5 separate regions of the Homo sapiens genome follow, and regions 1, 2, 3 and 5 are each linked to region 4. The links are contacts of gene promoters, found by promoter capture Hi-C in blood cells and fetal thymus (Javierre and others, 2016). All regions are on one chromosome and are shown on one strand. The core of a region is centred on a gene start or on the middle of the fragment in contact, and the rest is flanking DNA. Distances in the headings are between cores, read along the strand shown.

Evidence for each region. The method cuts DNA at HindIII sites, captures the fragments that hold promoters and counts their contacts. A CHiCAGO score of 5 or more calls a contact.
Region 1: a contact is called between a fragment that was not itself captured here and the fragment with the promoter of AKAP3 in region 4, in 5 of 17 cell types (naive CD8 T cells, total CD8 T cells, total B cells and 2 more). The highest score is 5.7, in naive CD8 T cells.
Region 2: a contact is called between a fragment that was not itself captured here and the fragment with the promoter of AKAP3 in region 4, in 1 of 17 cell types (total CD8 T cells). The highest score is 5.1, in total CD8 T cells.
Region 3: a fragment that was not itself captured here is called in contact with the fragment with the promoter of AKAP3 in region 4 in 2 of 17 cell types (activated CD4 T cells and total CD4 T cells); the score reaches 5.7 in activated CD4 T cells.
Region 5: a contact is called between a fragment that was not itself captured here and the fragment with the promoter of AKAP3 in region 4, in 1 of 17 cell types (naive CD4 T cells). The highest score is 5.9, in naive CD4 T cells.

The regions. Positions count from the first base shown.
Region 1 is chr12:3,860,004-3,862,703 of GRCh38, reverse strand. All of the region lies in intron 1 of PARP11 (poly(ADP-ribose) polymerase family member 11), which reads left to right. Among named protein-coding and RNA genes, the nearest start is that of PARP11-AS1, 8.8 kb to the left of the region's middle. The HindIII fragment of the contact is 5,372 bases long and covers 1-2,700 here.
Region 2 is chr12:3,877,809-3,880,508 of GRCh38, reverse strand. All of the region lies in intron 1 of PARP11-AS1 (PARP11 antisense RNA 1), which reads right to left. Among named protein-coding and RNA genes, the nearest start is that of PARP11, 5.8 kb to the right of the region's middle. The HindIII fragment of the contact is 857 bases long and covers 917-1,773 here.
Region 3 is chr12:3,812,599-3,815,298 of GRCh38, reverse strand. It overlaps PARP11 (poly(ADP-ribose) polymerase family member 11), which reads left to right. Exons shown (of 8, transcript NM_020367.6): 7 at 1,111-1,262. Among named protein-coding and RNA genes, the nearest start is that of PARP11-AS1, 56 kb to the left of the region's middle. The HindIII fragment of the contact is 3,710 bases long and covers 1-2,700 here.
Region 4 is chr12:4,647,801-4,650,500 of GRCh38, reverse strand. AKAP3 (A-kinase anchoring protein 3) reads left to right here and starts at 1,450. Exons shown (of 6, transcript NM_001278309.2): 1 at 1,450-1,756. It overlaps NDUFA9 (NADH:ubiquinone oxidoreductase subunit A9), which reads right to left and starts at 1,387. Exons shown (of 11, transcript NM_005002.5): 1 at 1,326-1,387. The coding sequence starts at 1,374. RefSeq lists enhancers at 962-1,617, 1,486-1,695, 1,976-2,025. The HindIII fragment of the contact is 2,310 bases long and covers 410-2,700 here.
Region 5 is chr12:3,895,494-3,898,193 of GRCh38, reverse strand. All of the region lies in intron 1 of PARP11-AS1 (PARP11 antisense RNA 1), which reads right to left. Among named protein-coding and RNA genes, the nearest start is that of PARP11, 23 kb to the right of the region's middle. The HindIII fragment of the contact is 880 bases long and covers 943-1,822 here.

The DNA of each region.
Region 1 (2,700 bases), core at 117-2,616, 790 kb after region 4:
ACAGTTGTTTTAACTAATGATGCTGAAACAATTGGATACCCATATGCAGAAAAATGAACGTCACTCCATACTTTGCTATACTATAAAAATTATATATATAGTATATAAAATATACTAATAAAATATATAGTATAGAAAAATTTATAAACTATAAAATTTACTAAAAATGGATCATAGACCTAAATGCAGAATCTAAGACTACAAATTTCCAGGTGAAAAAAATAGAAAAAAAAATACATATATTTATTTTTTTGAGACAGAGTCATGCTTGGTTGCCTAGGCTGTAGTGCAGTGGTGTGATCATAGCTCATTGTAACATTGAACTCCTGGGCTCAAGCAATCCTCTTGCCTGTCTCCCAAGTAGCTGGGACTACAGGTGCATGCTACCATGCCCAGCTAATTTTTAAATTTTTTGTAGAGATGGGGTTTTGCTATGTTCCCCAGGCTAGTCTCAAACTACTGACTTCAAGTGATCTAGTCTAAAACTCCTGGTCTCAATCTTCTGGGTGCAGCCTCCCAAAGTGCTGTGATTACAGGGATGAGCCACTATGCCTGGCTGAGAAAAATCTTTTTCAAATCTTAAAATTTGTATTTCTCTAATGACTAATCATGTTGAACATCTTTTCATGTATTTTCCATCTGCTTGTTTTTTTGGTGTGGTTTCTGCCAGCATTGGTTAGGTACGGAGTCTCGCTCCATCAACCAGGTTGGAGTGCAGTGGTGCTATCTCATCCTACTGCAAGCTCTGCCTCCTGGGTTCACGCCATTCTCCTGTCTCAGCCTCCCGAGTAGCTGGGACTATAGGCACCCTCCACCACGCCTGGCTAATTTTTTTGTATTTTTGGTAGAGACGGGGTTTCACCGTGTTAGCCAGGATGGTCTCAATCTCCTGACCTCGTGATCCGCCCGCCTCGGCCTCCCAAAGTACTGGGATTACAGGCGTGAGCCACCACGCCTGGCCACAAAGATTCTTTTTAGCTACAATGCCAGGACTATGATCGATGAAAAAAAAAAGTGATAAAACAGACTTTATCAAAATTAAAAACTTCTGCTGTTGAAAACATGCTTCTAGGAGAATGAAAAGATAAGCCACAGACGGGAGAAAGTATTTAAAAAGCATATATCTGATAAATGACTTGTACATAGAATATATTAAGAACTCTGAAATCTCAAGAGAAGGAACTCAATTTTTTAAAGTGAGCTAAAGATATGAATAGACACTGCACCAAAGAAGATAAGCAGATGGAAAATAACAACATGAAAAGATGTTCAACATCATTATTCTTTAGGGAAATGGAAAATAGAACCACAATACTGCCCATCTATCAGATTGGCAAATATTAAGAAAAGCCTTAATGCCATTTATGAGGACTTTGCCTTCATGATCTAATCACCTCCCAAAGGCCCCATTTTCATATCACATTAGGAGTTAGAATTTCAACATAATAATTTGGCAAGGACACAAACGTTTAGTCTATAACATTCTGGCCCTGGCCCTTCCCTCCACGAAAAATTTGTGTCTTCGTTGCATGCAAATTACATTCATTTTATCCCAATCACCCCAGAGTCTTAACTGATACCAGCATCAACTTTAAAGTCCAACATCTCATCTAAATATTATCTAAATCAGATGCAGTTGAGCCCAAGGTATGATTCATCCTGAGGCAAATTCTCCTCCAGCTGTGACCCTGTGAAACCAAATATGTGCTTCCAAAATGCAATGGTGGTCTGAGTTTGGTGGCTTGTGCCTGTAATCCCAGCTACCTGGCAGGCTGAGGTGGGAGGATCACTTGAGGCCAGGAGTTGAAGACCAGCCTGAGCAACATGGCAAGACTGTCTCTGAAAAAATTGAAAAATTAATTGGCCAGACGTGGTGTCATGTGCTTGTAGTCCCAGCTCCTCAGGAAGCTGAAGCACAAGGATCACTTGATACTAGGAGTTCGAGGTTGCAGTGAGCTATGATGTGTCACTGCACTTTAGCCTGGACAAGACTAAAGTGCAAGACAACAGAGCAAGACCCTGTCTCTAAAAAAATTAAAAAGTTAAAAAATATAGTGGTGTGCTAGTCATAGGGTAGACATTCCATTCTGAAAGGGAGAAAAAGGAAGGAAGAAAGGGGTGACAGGTCCCGAGCAAGTTCCATGAAATCTTAAGGCTACAAAATGAATGATTGGCTTGATGCTCTGCCTTCCAGAGAAGTGGAAGTGCTGCCTTCTGGACCCTCTGATGGGGTTGGTCACAATCCCTGGGCTTTGAGAGGTCCAGCCCTCATGAGCCATCTGGCCTATTGAAAGCAAGGCAGTGGTCCCTTCTTTTGTTGAACCAAGGAAGCATCCCGGATGATCTCTGAATTGCTTTTAGGGTCCTTCCTTGTCTTAAAGAAGAGCACACATTTGCAGCTGAATTGCTCTATGGTCCCATCCTGAAAAATCCAAGAAGTCTACCAACCCTCCTTCATTTCTTCCCATCTACTATTTTTTCATTTCAAATTGGCAGTTGTCCTGCTGGGGCGGTCCACATCCATACTAATCTTATCAAATGATCATTTGACCACAACCTTAGTGTTGTCCTCTGAACAGACTTTCTCATTCTTTTCAATATGGGTAGGTTGAGAATTTTCTGCATCTTTAAGTACTGGTTCTTTTTTGCTTAATAATTCTGTCTTTAAGTCATTCTCTCTTCTTGCGTTCTATTTAAGCA
Region 2 (2,700 bases), core at 96-2,595, 770 kb after region 4:
CAGTACAGATGCTACGTAAACAGTTGTTATACTGTATTGTTCAGGGAATAATGACAAGAAAAAAAATGTCCATGGTCAGTACAGACACAACCATCTATTTTTTTCTCAATATTTCTGATCCATGGTTGGTTGAATGCATGATTGTGTAACCCATGGGTATGGAGAACCAACTATACAATGGTATTCCCCCAGCCCCAATTTCACTTCCTGCGATTTCAGTTTTCCGCTGTCAACCATCACCTGAAAATATTAAGATTCAAGAGATAAATAATTCATGTTTAAAATTGCATGCCATTCTGAGTAGCATAATGAAATCTCATGCCATTCCCTTCCCGTTTTCCCCAAGATGTGAATCCTCCCTTTAGTCACTATTTCCATGGTGTCTGCAGGCGCACCTTCTTTTATTTATTGCACTTTGCTTTATCATGTTTCACAGATGTTGCTTTTTTTTTTCTTTTCCTTTTTCTTTTTTTTTTTTTTTTAACAAACTGAAAGTTTGTGGCACCCTGCTCAAGCAAGTCTATCAGTTCCGATTTTCTAACAGCATGTGCTCTCTTTATGTTTCTGTGTCACATTTTGGTAATGCTCACAATAATCCAAATTTTTCATTATCATTCTATCTGTCATGGTAATCTGGGATCAGTGATTTTTGGTGCTACTATTAGAATTGTTTCAAGATGTTATGAACCGCACTCATATAAGATAGCAAACTTAACTGATAAATGTGTGTGTTCTGACTGCTCCATCAACCAGCCCTTTCCCTGTGTCTCTCCCTCTCCTCGGGCCTCCTTATTCCCTGAGACACAACAATATTGAAAGTAGGCCAATTAATAACCCTACAATGGCCTCTAAGTGTTTAAGCAAAGGGAAGAACACACGTCTCTCACTTTAAATCAAAACTAGAAATGATTAAGCTTAGTGAGGAAAGTGTGTCAAAAGCCAAGATAGGCCAACATCTAGGTCTGTTGTACCAAACAGCCAAGTTGTGAATGCAAAGGGAAAATTCTTAAAAGTGCTACTCCAGTAAACACACAATGATAAGAAAGTGAAAAAAACTGTATTGCTGCTATGGAGAAAGTTTCAGTGGTCTGGATAGAAGATCAAACCAGCCACAACACAGCCTAATCCAGAGCAAGGCCCTAACTCTCTTCAATTCTATGAAGGCTGAGAGAAGTGAAGAAGCTGCAGAAGAGGCTTGAAGCTATCAGAGGTTGGTTAATGAGGTTTAAGAAAGAAGAGATCTCCATGCGCCGGGCGCAGTGGCTCATGCCTGCAATGCCAGCACTTTGGGGGGCTGAGGTGAGTGGATCACGAGGTCAGGAGATCAAGACCATCCTGGCCAACACGGTGAAACCCTGTCTCTACTAAAAAAATACAAAAAAATTAGCTGGGTATGGTGGTGGGCACCTGTAGTCCCAGCTACTCGGGAGGCTGAGGCAGGAGGATGGTGTAGACCCGGGAGGCAGAGCTTGCAGTGAGCCGAGATGGTGCCACTGCACTCCAACCTGGGTGACAGAGTGAGACTCTGTCTCAAAACAGAAAAAAAAAAAAAGAAAGAAGCCATCTCCATAACATAAAAGTGCAAGGTGAAGCAACAGGGCTGGTGGAGAAGCTGCAGCATGTGATCCAAAAGATCTAGTTGAAATTATTGATGAAGGTGGCTCCACTGAACAACGGATTTTCAGTGTAAGCAAAACAGCCTTCTATTGGAAGAACATGCCATCTAGCACTTTCATAGCTAGAGAGTAAAAGTCAATGCCTGGCCTCAAAGCTTCAAAGAAAAAGCTGACTCTCTTTTTAGGAGCAAATGCAGCTGATGACTAAGTTGAAGGCAATGTTCATTTACCATTTCTGAAAACCTTAGAGCCCTTAAGAATGATGTTAAATCTACTCTGTCTGTGCTCTCGAAATGGAACAACAAAGCCTAGATGACAGCACCTCTGTTGACAGCATGGTTTATTGAATATTTTTAGCCCATTGTTGAGATCTACTCACCAGAAAAAAAGATTTATTTCAAAATATTATTGCTCATTAACAATGTGCCTGGTTACCCAAGAGCACAGATAAGGATGTACAAGGAAATTAATGTTGTTTTCATGCCTGCTAACACACCATCCATTCTGTAGCCCATAGATCAAGGAGTTATTTTGACTGTCAAGTCTTATTATTTAAGGAATACATTTTGTAAAGGTATAGCTGCCATATATAGTGATTCCTTTGATGGATTTGAACAAATAATTTGAAAACCTTTTGTATATAATTTACCATTGAAAATAATATTAAGAATATTCATGATTCATGGGAGAAGATTAAAATGCCAACATTAACAGGAGTTTGAAAGAAGTTGATTGCAGTCCTTATGGAAGACTTTGAGGGATTTAAGACTTCAGTGGAGGGCAGTCACTACAGATGTGATGGAAATAGCAAGAGAACTAGAATTAGAAATGGAGCCTGAAGATGTGACTGAATTGCTGCAATCTCATGATGAAACTTGAACCAATGAGGAGTTGCTTCTTACGGATGAGCAAAGAAAGTTTCCTGAGATAGAATCTACTTCTGCCGATCATGCTGTGAACATTGCTGAAATGTCAGCATAGGACTGAAAATATTTCACAAACTCAGTTGATATAGCAGCAACAGAGTTTGAGAGGAGAGGATTGAGTTCAATTTTGAAAGATGTTCTACTGTGGGTAAAATGCT
Region 3 (2,700 bases), core at 105-2,604, 840 kb after region 4:
AAATAAATTGTGCTGTTTTGCAAAGTGAGCACGTGATGCTGTGAGTACTTGACACTGGATGAATTGAAGCAGGCATTAAAGAGCTATCAGAAGCCGGGGGAGGGGATTCTTTTTAATTTTTAAAATATGATTTTTATGAAATGTTTCAAGAATGAAAATGCAGCAAATAGTTTGCAGACTCCCATGTATCTACCAATCAGATTTAACATTTTGATACTTGTCACATTTCCTTCCTCTTCACACAGATACAGGTGAAGTGTTTACTCCATCCCTGTCCTACTCTCCTTCTTTCCTCCTGAGATTGGTATGGTGCCTTATTGTTTGTATTTTGTATTTTTTACTACCTGTGTATGTATACCTACATAATACACAGTATTATTTTGAGTTCTCTATCTCTTTTTGCAAAATTCTTTTTACATTCAATATTATTTTTTAAGATTTACTATGTTAATGCACATAGATCTACTTCATTACTTTTAACTTTTATATGTAAATACATGACTATATTCATTTCTCTGTGAAATAATTTTAGGCTGTTTTCAGTTTTTGTTTTCTGTTACAATCAGTCCTACATTAAATATGCTTTTATGTGTTAGGATAGATTTATCCTTGGGAAGAGGATTAAACTGGATGGCTTAATGTCCCTCCCAACCCTATGGTGCAAAATTTAGTCAACTGAACCAACATTTTCTAGTTTCTGAGGATAAAAAGCATATGACATGATCCCTGCTCAAGGAATTCACTGTCTAAAGTCTCTGCAAACTTTGTATTACTTGTTTGTTGTCTCATTTTTAGGCATCTATAAAGGTTAGCTGGTTTAGACAATCAATTACCTTTATGATATTGGGGCATAGCATGGGATAACTATAGTTTTTGGCATAATTTTCAACCTTAAGTTTCAGTGTTAACTAATAATTTTTGATGAGATGATTTATGTGTCCAAGAACATTTGAAATTATTTCTTTTCTAGACTTGCTTTGTCCACTTGTTATTTATATTAAAGTATTTCCTGTTTTACGCTTTCTATTGAACCTTGCTCATTAAGATTAATAAATGCTACTTATGGTATATTTCTGTGTGCTTTTGTGTCTGTGTATATTGTGTTTTTAGGAAAAAGGCTCAGCTCAAGAAAAAAAGAGGTGTGCCTCAGATTAATGAACAAATGCTGTTTCATGGTACCAGCAGTGAATTTGTGGAAGCAATCTGCATTCATAACTTTGATTGGAGAATAAATGGTATACATGGTGCTGTCTTTGGAAAAGGTAATTATCAGAATTCCAGGTCCAATTTGAGCCCCAGGAGAGAGTTTCCTCTTTTTAGAGGAATATAAATATAAATATGAACTGCTTTATGGCAAATATATAGAGAATGATAAAACAAATGGATTATAATTGCATTGTGTACGAGAATAGATACTAGTGTTTTTGTTTTATTTTGTTTTTAAGAAAATCATAGGTAAGAATATTAGTGAGCAATAAGGAATAGTGGGGGAAAACTTCACGTTATTTATAATGTTGTGAAAATCCAAGTTTTTCAATTTATGTCTGGTACTCAGGCAAATTAAGGAGAGAGGTGAGGGGAAAAGGTATGGGATGTACATTTAATTTTCTGGTCCTTACTTTGTACCTTGCTTCCAGCAAGAGAACTGACTACTGTTTAGGATCAGGATATGCTGCATTTTGAAAATGTAAATTAATTTAAAAAATAACTACTAAAAAGGCCATTCCACTTATTTAACTGTAAGGAGGTCAGAAGGTGTTACATAAATCCCATCAGTGTTAGGTAAATATGAGACTTTGCAATTCATTTCCACATTTTTTTAGAGTAAGAATGCCCTTAATGATGTCTATCTCTTGTGTCTACCATTTCAGAAGAGTTGGCTGCTTTATCGAGTTTTCATGTGTAGGCAGTGAGCCAGTAAAATCATTTTTGTTTTGGAATGCTCAGATATGAATAGCATTATACTCTCTCAGAAATCTTTTCATGGATATGGGATTCTATTGTTTCCAGAAATATTACTGAATTGTTATCCCATATCATAGAAATACGGTTTCTTGGGGTTTAAAAGAATCCCTGTAGGCCATCGGTTTCCACTGTGCTCTCTAGAGCTTTGCTGGATGTTGACAAGGGAACAGGGTGAGGAAGTGGTGAAAGGAAATAGAAACGGGAGGGAGGGCCAAGCAGTAAAACTCAGGGCCGGGCATGGTGGCTCACGCCTGTAATCCCAGCAGTTTGGGAGGTCGAGGCAGGTGGATCACCTGAGGTCAAGAGTTCAAGATCAGCCTGGCCAACATGGTGAAACCCTGTCTCTACTAAAAAAATATAAAAATTAGTTGGGTGTGGTGGCACGCGCCTGTAATCCCAGCTACTCAGGAGGCTGAGGGAGGAGAATCGCTTGAACCTGGGAGGCGGAGGTTGCAGTGAGCTGAGATCGCGCCACTGCACTCCAGCTTGGGAGACAGAGCAAGACTCTGTCTCAAAAAAACAGAACAAAACAAAACTCAGGTCCAACCACACTTTTAATCATTAAACCAGTTTTATCTGTTTTATTAATTGTTTTCTTTGTAAGATTTATTTTAAAAACAGAAGTCTGATAGCTATATTTTGGTGGGGGCAGGGGATGGTGTTGGTGGTGAGGACTGGTCTGTACCAACAAATCTATTCCTATGGCAGTCTATACTACAGCTGTCCATAACAGAT
Region 4 (2,700 bases), core at 201-2,700:
AGTCAGAGGAAAGTAAGTTAAAAGAGGAAAATTAATAAAAATACCTAGAACTGGAGATTGCAGATAGCAGGTACTCAATAAATAGTGATTACCATTCACAATCTACATTACGTCATACAATTGTAATAGTTTAACAAGAACCAGCAAATGTCTTTGCAAAGACATTGTGACTACAAAACCATCCACTATAAGTGATGTGCACCACCACCTTCCCAGTGGTATGCAGGAGTTCTACCCAAGATGGAAAACAAAAAAAAAAGGATCCTCTAAACACTCCTAATTCTTGCCTCAGGCTGAACATCAAGCCTATCTGTGGTGCTTTTAAAAATTTAAGGTGCAAGGAGCTAATCTCACAAATTCTGACTCAATAGCTCTACACTCAGTCCTCATTTCTAATTTTTATAAAGCTTTACGAGTGATTCTGACATGAGCCAATTTTGAAAGCAAATGATATTCTGTAACGACTAAAATACACTAAGAAAAATACAACTTTGGGGGTTTGATTGGAATATGTTTGTGGAAGAGTAGAGGGTGAAAGGACAATGATGAAGTGTAACCGTATTTCTAATTTCCTTGCTTTTTAGTGAGTGGAAGGACAAATGTATGTTTTCAGTTTGAGGAGTGGGAGCAGATCCAATCAGAACAGAAGAGAAACTAAATAATGCTAACAAATTCTAACATAGCCTTCATTCTTCACTTTCCTTTCCACCAAGCTCCTGATTCTTCTCTCCTCAAACATCACTCTCTCCCCCAGACCCCAACGCACTTTGCCGAACACATTCTACATCCGTAGAGACGCTTTTGGGTAAAAGGATGCTTTTACAAATATTAGCTCATTTAATCTTATCAGAGACTCCCTGGTATTGTAATATTATCATTTCCATTGTGCTCATATGAATTGAGACCCATTAAGGGTTTGCACAAGGTCATAAAATCAATCTAAGAAAACCTCTCGCCACTAGCCTTTTTTCCCTCCCTTACACATTTCTCCCCCCGCCCCATACAAATATTTCTCATAACCCTAAACCCTTACAACCATATCAGAATTCTGATTCTCTCGATCCCTAACGTGTCCCCCGCATTCTCCTCTTCGCTTACAGCTGCTTAAGATCTTTTGTCCCCTCCCAAGGTGGTGCACAATTGAATATGTGAGCCGGGGAAGCGGAAAGCGAAAGGAGAAACCAGACTGAGGCAGCTCCAAACCTAGAGAAACCAGAGTGTGCCTAGGAAGTTGGCGTGACCGCTGCAGCACGGTGCCACTTCCAAAACCTTAAATCCCCGTCTCGGAATCCCGACCAGGGGCCGCCGTTCCCGGTAACACTTACGTGACATTGACAGGACCCGGACAACCCGGGATTGTGCGGCAGCCGCCATCTTTTCCCACAATCCCCCACGACAGCACTCCCGGCTGACTACGGCTGCTAAGCTGGGTCAAAACTTACCTTTCTCGCCTGTCTGCGCAAGCGCTAACCAAGAAACGACGGTTTCGGGTAGATTGTTGGTTAAGAAGAAAGCTGGGAAAGTGAAGGAGAGGGGGAAGAAAGGAAGTGAAAAGACTTTGGCTGTTGGAATCTCAGATCTGGAATAGGCTGTATAGGCTATTTATAATCTCTAATTGCCGAGGAACCTGAAGTTCAGAGTTAACCAGTGACTGACTCAGGACATGCAAAATGGCAAGACCCGAGGTAGAAGAGCTCACCTTTCCTGACTCTCAGTTTCCTGTTCCCTGAAAATGTAAGCTAAGCTGGCAGCCCTGGTGAGTCCGGAGGAAGAAGGAGGCGTAGCCCTCCGCGCTCAGGAGATCCAGGGCCCAGGAGAGAGAAAAGGGGGGACAAGAACGAGGGGAAAAGTGGAGAAGAGAAACCAAAATAGGGTGTGTCCCAAGTAAATAAATGTGCGTCGAGCCCGCCAAGCACATTCTCTCATAGGGACCCTTGCGCCTGCTGTTCGCGTTTCCTGGAATGCACACTCAGGTGTCTGCACCAGCTCAAGTCTCTGCTCAAAAGTGACCTCTTCGGATAAAACTTCTCTGACCATCCTATCCAAGGTGGTAATTATTCCACCAATTTTTGGTTTAAGTTTATATACCAAAGCACTTATCACCAACTAGCATATGAATCTAGGAGTTCTTAACCAGAAGTGTGATTCATGAGTGGGCTTCGGGAAATCTGTGAACTTCCTGAAATATTATGCAAATTTAGTGGCCATGTGTGCCATCTGAACATCTGTCTAAGGAGAAACTGCAGATGGCTCTCTCTAGCGCAATGGCTTGTAATTTTTTCTTTAACTGTGGTCACCTTTGAGAATCTGCATTGTTCTACAAAGAGCCATCTAGAAACTGAGGAAATTCCAGGTTAGACTAAGCGCTTGGATTTTAAAATACTTTATTCTGGTCAACCTCTCCAGATTGCTGGGTAGGAGATGGCAACCAGTGATCCTGTGAAACATACCTTAGGCTTATCAGAAAACCACCTAGTTTGGGGAGGGCGGGTTCTTTCTAGACTTGGTAATCCTTCCAGTGCTTTGTTTTTTCAGGAAAAGTATGTGTTTCTGGGATAGACAAAAAGGCCTGTGATGAGTAGGGATGTAGAAGTTGCTTATTACTAGGCTTGAAATCTTGGCTGTTTCCACTCTATCTTGCCCCTACTGTTTACTGAAGTGTCGCCTAACAAATTGAATTGGAAGAGAGAAAAAAACCTT
Region 5 (2,700 bases), core at 133-2,632, 750 kb after region 4:
ATGGCACCCTCATCACCCTTGCTCTGCCTGTTACAATTCCCCTTATGCTACCTGGCAAACACTAGTTGTTTTGTAGCCATGTCAGAATTTTTTGGCTCATGTTGGGCTTTTTGTTAACTACAATCTTCAAGACTTTTTCCCATTAACTATTGTCAATAATTTGAATAACTGAGTTTTTTTTTTTTTAATCAATATGAAGAACTTGCATTTTCTCCATTAAATTCCATCATGCTTATTTTGGCTCCTTGTTCAGGCAAACCACCATATCCTGTTTCTGTCATGCGGCATATTACTTAGACTTCTTCATTTTGTGTCAACTCATATTTATATGTTGGCATCTCTTTCATGTCATTGAAAGGATTTTCACAGAACCGGGCACCAAACAAGGACTAGCGGCATCTTGTGCTACACCTCTCTCTGAGTTGACTTGGCCCCGCCTGTCCAGTGCTTTTTGGATACAATGGTTTGCCTAGCTGTGCCTTCACCAAGCCATAGATCACCCAGGCCCTATCCATTCATTGTACCATAAAATGTGTTGTCGGAAGCCCTGTTGAAAGATTCACTACCTCTGGGACAATCTTGAGAGTTTTGGTAATCTTTCAAAAAAGAAAAAAATGTGAAGTGATGTTAGTATGACATGGTTTGTTCTACATAACCTGTGCTGGCTTCTTGAGATTACCACTTCCTTTTCAAAGCGATTGTAATCTAACTCCTTAATAATGCAGCTTACAGTTTGCTGGGGATCAAAGTTAAACTCAACAGTGCAAAGTTCCCCAAACCTACATATTTCCCCTTTTGACAACTCGGACAGTTGCCCATCACTAATCTTCTGGCATCACTCCTGAGATTCCTGAAAGATTACTGACAATCATTCTATGATTAAATCTACAAATTCTTTCAGTCCCCAGGGATGGAATTTGTCAGGGCCTGGAGATCTAAGCTTATTTAGAGAGCCCAGGTATTCATTTTCTAAAGAGCTTCATAACTAGGGCTGCAATTGCTTCTTTGCAGTGTTTATATTGTTCTTTCCAGTTTGAAGATCATTCTGAGAGATAGAGATGATGGAAGCTAAGTAGGAGTTGCATAATTCTGCTTTGTATCTGTCATCTGCTAGCATTACACCATCTGCCCCAAGCACAGGATCTGGCCCTTCCCTATTCTTCCTGCTCAGAATATACTTGCACAAAGCTCTTTTTGCTGTTCCTGAGCATTTTTTGCAAGTCTCAGCTCATTCTGAGCCCCAGCCTTGCTAACACTATGGCTACAAGCCTGTGACACTCTTTGCTTTTCTTCTCCGGTGATGTGCCCTGCTTAGTGCTTTTGTAAAGGCTCTTTGAAAACCTGAGAGTGCTGGAGGGCTTCCCCTGCTGGCTCGGGGTCTTCCCTTTGCTTCCTAGTCAGGATCACTGGAGACTGTATTGCCAGAATTTAATTTTGGAAAGAATGTTGCTTTAATGCTTCTTCTGTCCTCTCATTCTTTGAAAACAAAACAACAAAACAAAACAAAATAGTACAACAACAACAACCACCACAAAAATCACAGCTGCAAATGAGGTCTGATTAGAAACCAGTACAGTGTATTTAGGCTCATCATGGTAAAAAAAAATCTGACAAATGATAAAAAGCGTTGCTTAGTTTGCTTTAAATAAGAATGTGGAGGAACTGTTTTTTCTAGTTCATTGTGCAATGAGAAAAAAGGGAGGGAGCAGAGATCCAAAAAACAAGGACAATTAATATTGAGTAGCAACTACGTTCTTTCATTTAATCTTCATGTCAGTCCTGGAAGCACTGTCCTGATTTAGAGATGGAGAAAAATGAAGCTTAAGTTAAGTGACTTAGAGTAACTTTGTAAACCAGTGGGTAGAACCAAGGGTCAAACTCAGGCAGTGTGATTGGACTGCTCATGTGCTTTTTCCTACATTACGGGTATAGGTAAGCAGCTCACAAAACCATTCCACCCAAAGATGTGTTTTTTGGACCCTATGGCATTTAAAAAAATGTTTAGATTTATTGCCGACATTTATAACTTAGGAGATTTTACGTTCACTTCTAGAATCCTAGCTACTTTTGAGAACCTCTGGCCCTACATTTCCCCCATGGAAACCATTGGCCAAGTGGAGTAGTGGCGATCTGCCCTCTCCAGGTTGCCCCAATCCCCACCTTCCCCCTCATTTATATTCCCCGCTTGGTCCTGTTAGATGTTTGAGTTTGCACTGCCTTAGGCTATGCTGATACTCCATTGTTTTTCCTGGTTTCTGAGAGAAAGCCTTCTGCCATATGGAAAAGAAGGGAGCAAAGGTTATGAAAATCAAAGATATGTCTCTTGCACTCAATTCGGCCTTATTATTCCCCTGGAAAGGGCCTCCCAGAATCTTAAGAGGTTCCGAAAAAGAGTGTGCTTGTTTCACTCAGCTTGTCCCAGGATCCTCCATTCCCAATAATGGACTCCCTTTTGCACTGTGTTTCTTAAACCACAGAGTCTAACAAGAACATCATTCAACTTTTTAAAGCCTGTATGTATGGGCAAGAGAGCCTGTTCATATGACCTTCTAAATAGGACTCTTGGGCACGATCAGAATGTCTGGCTAAGCCTGCCTTCGTGGTTAGACACCACTAACAGACCATTGAAAATATGCACGTCGTAGATCATAGAGTGGACAGAACCTAGGCTGAGGATCAGGAAATCTGTTTTTTCATCTT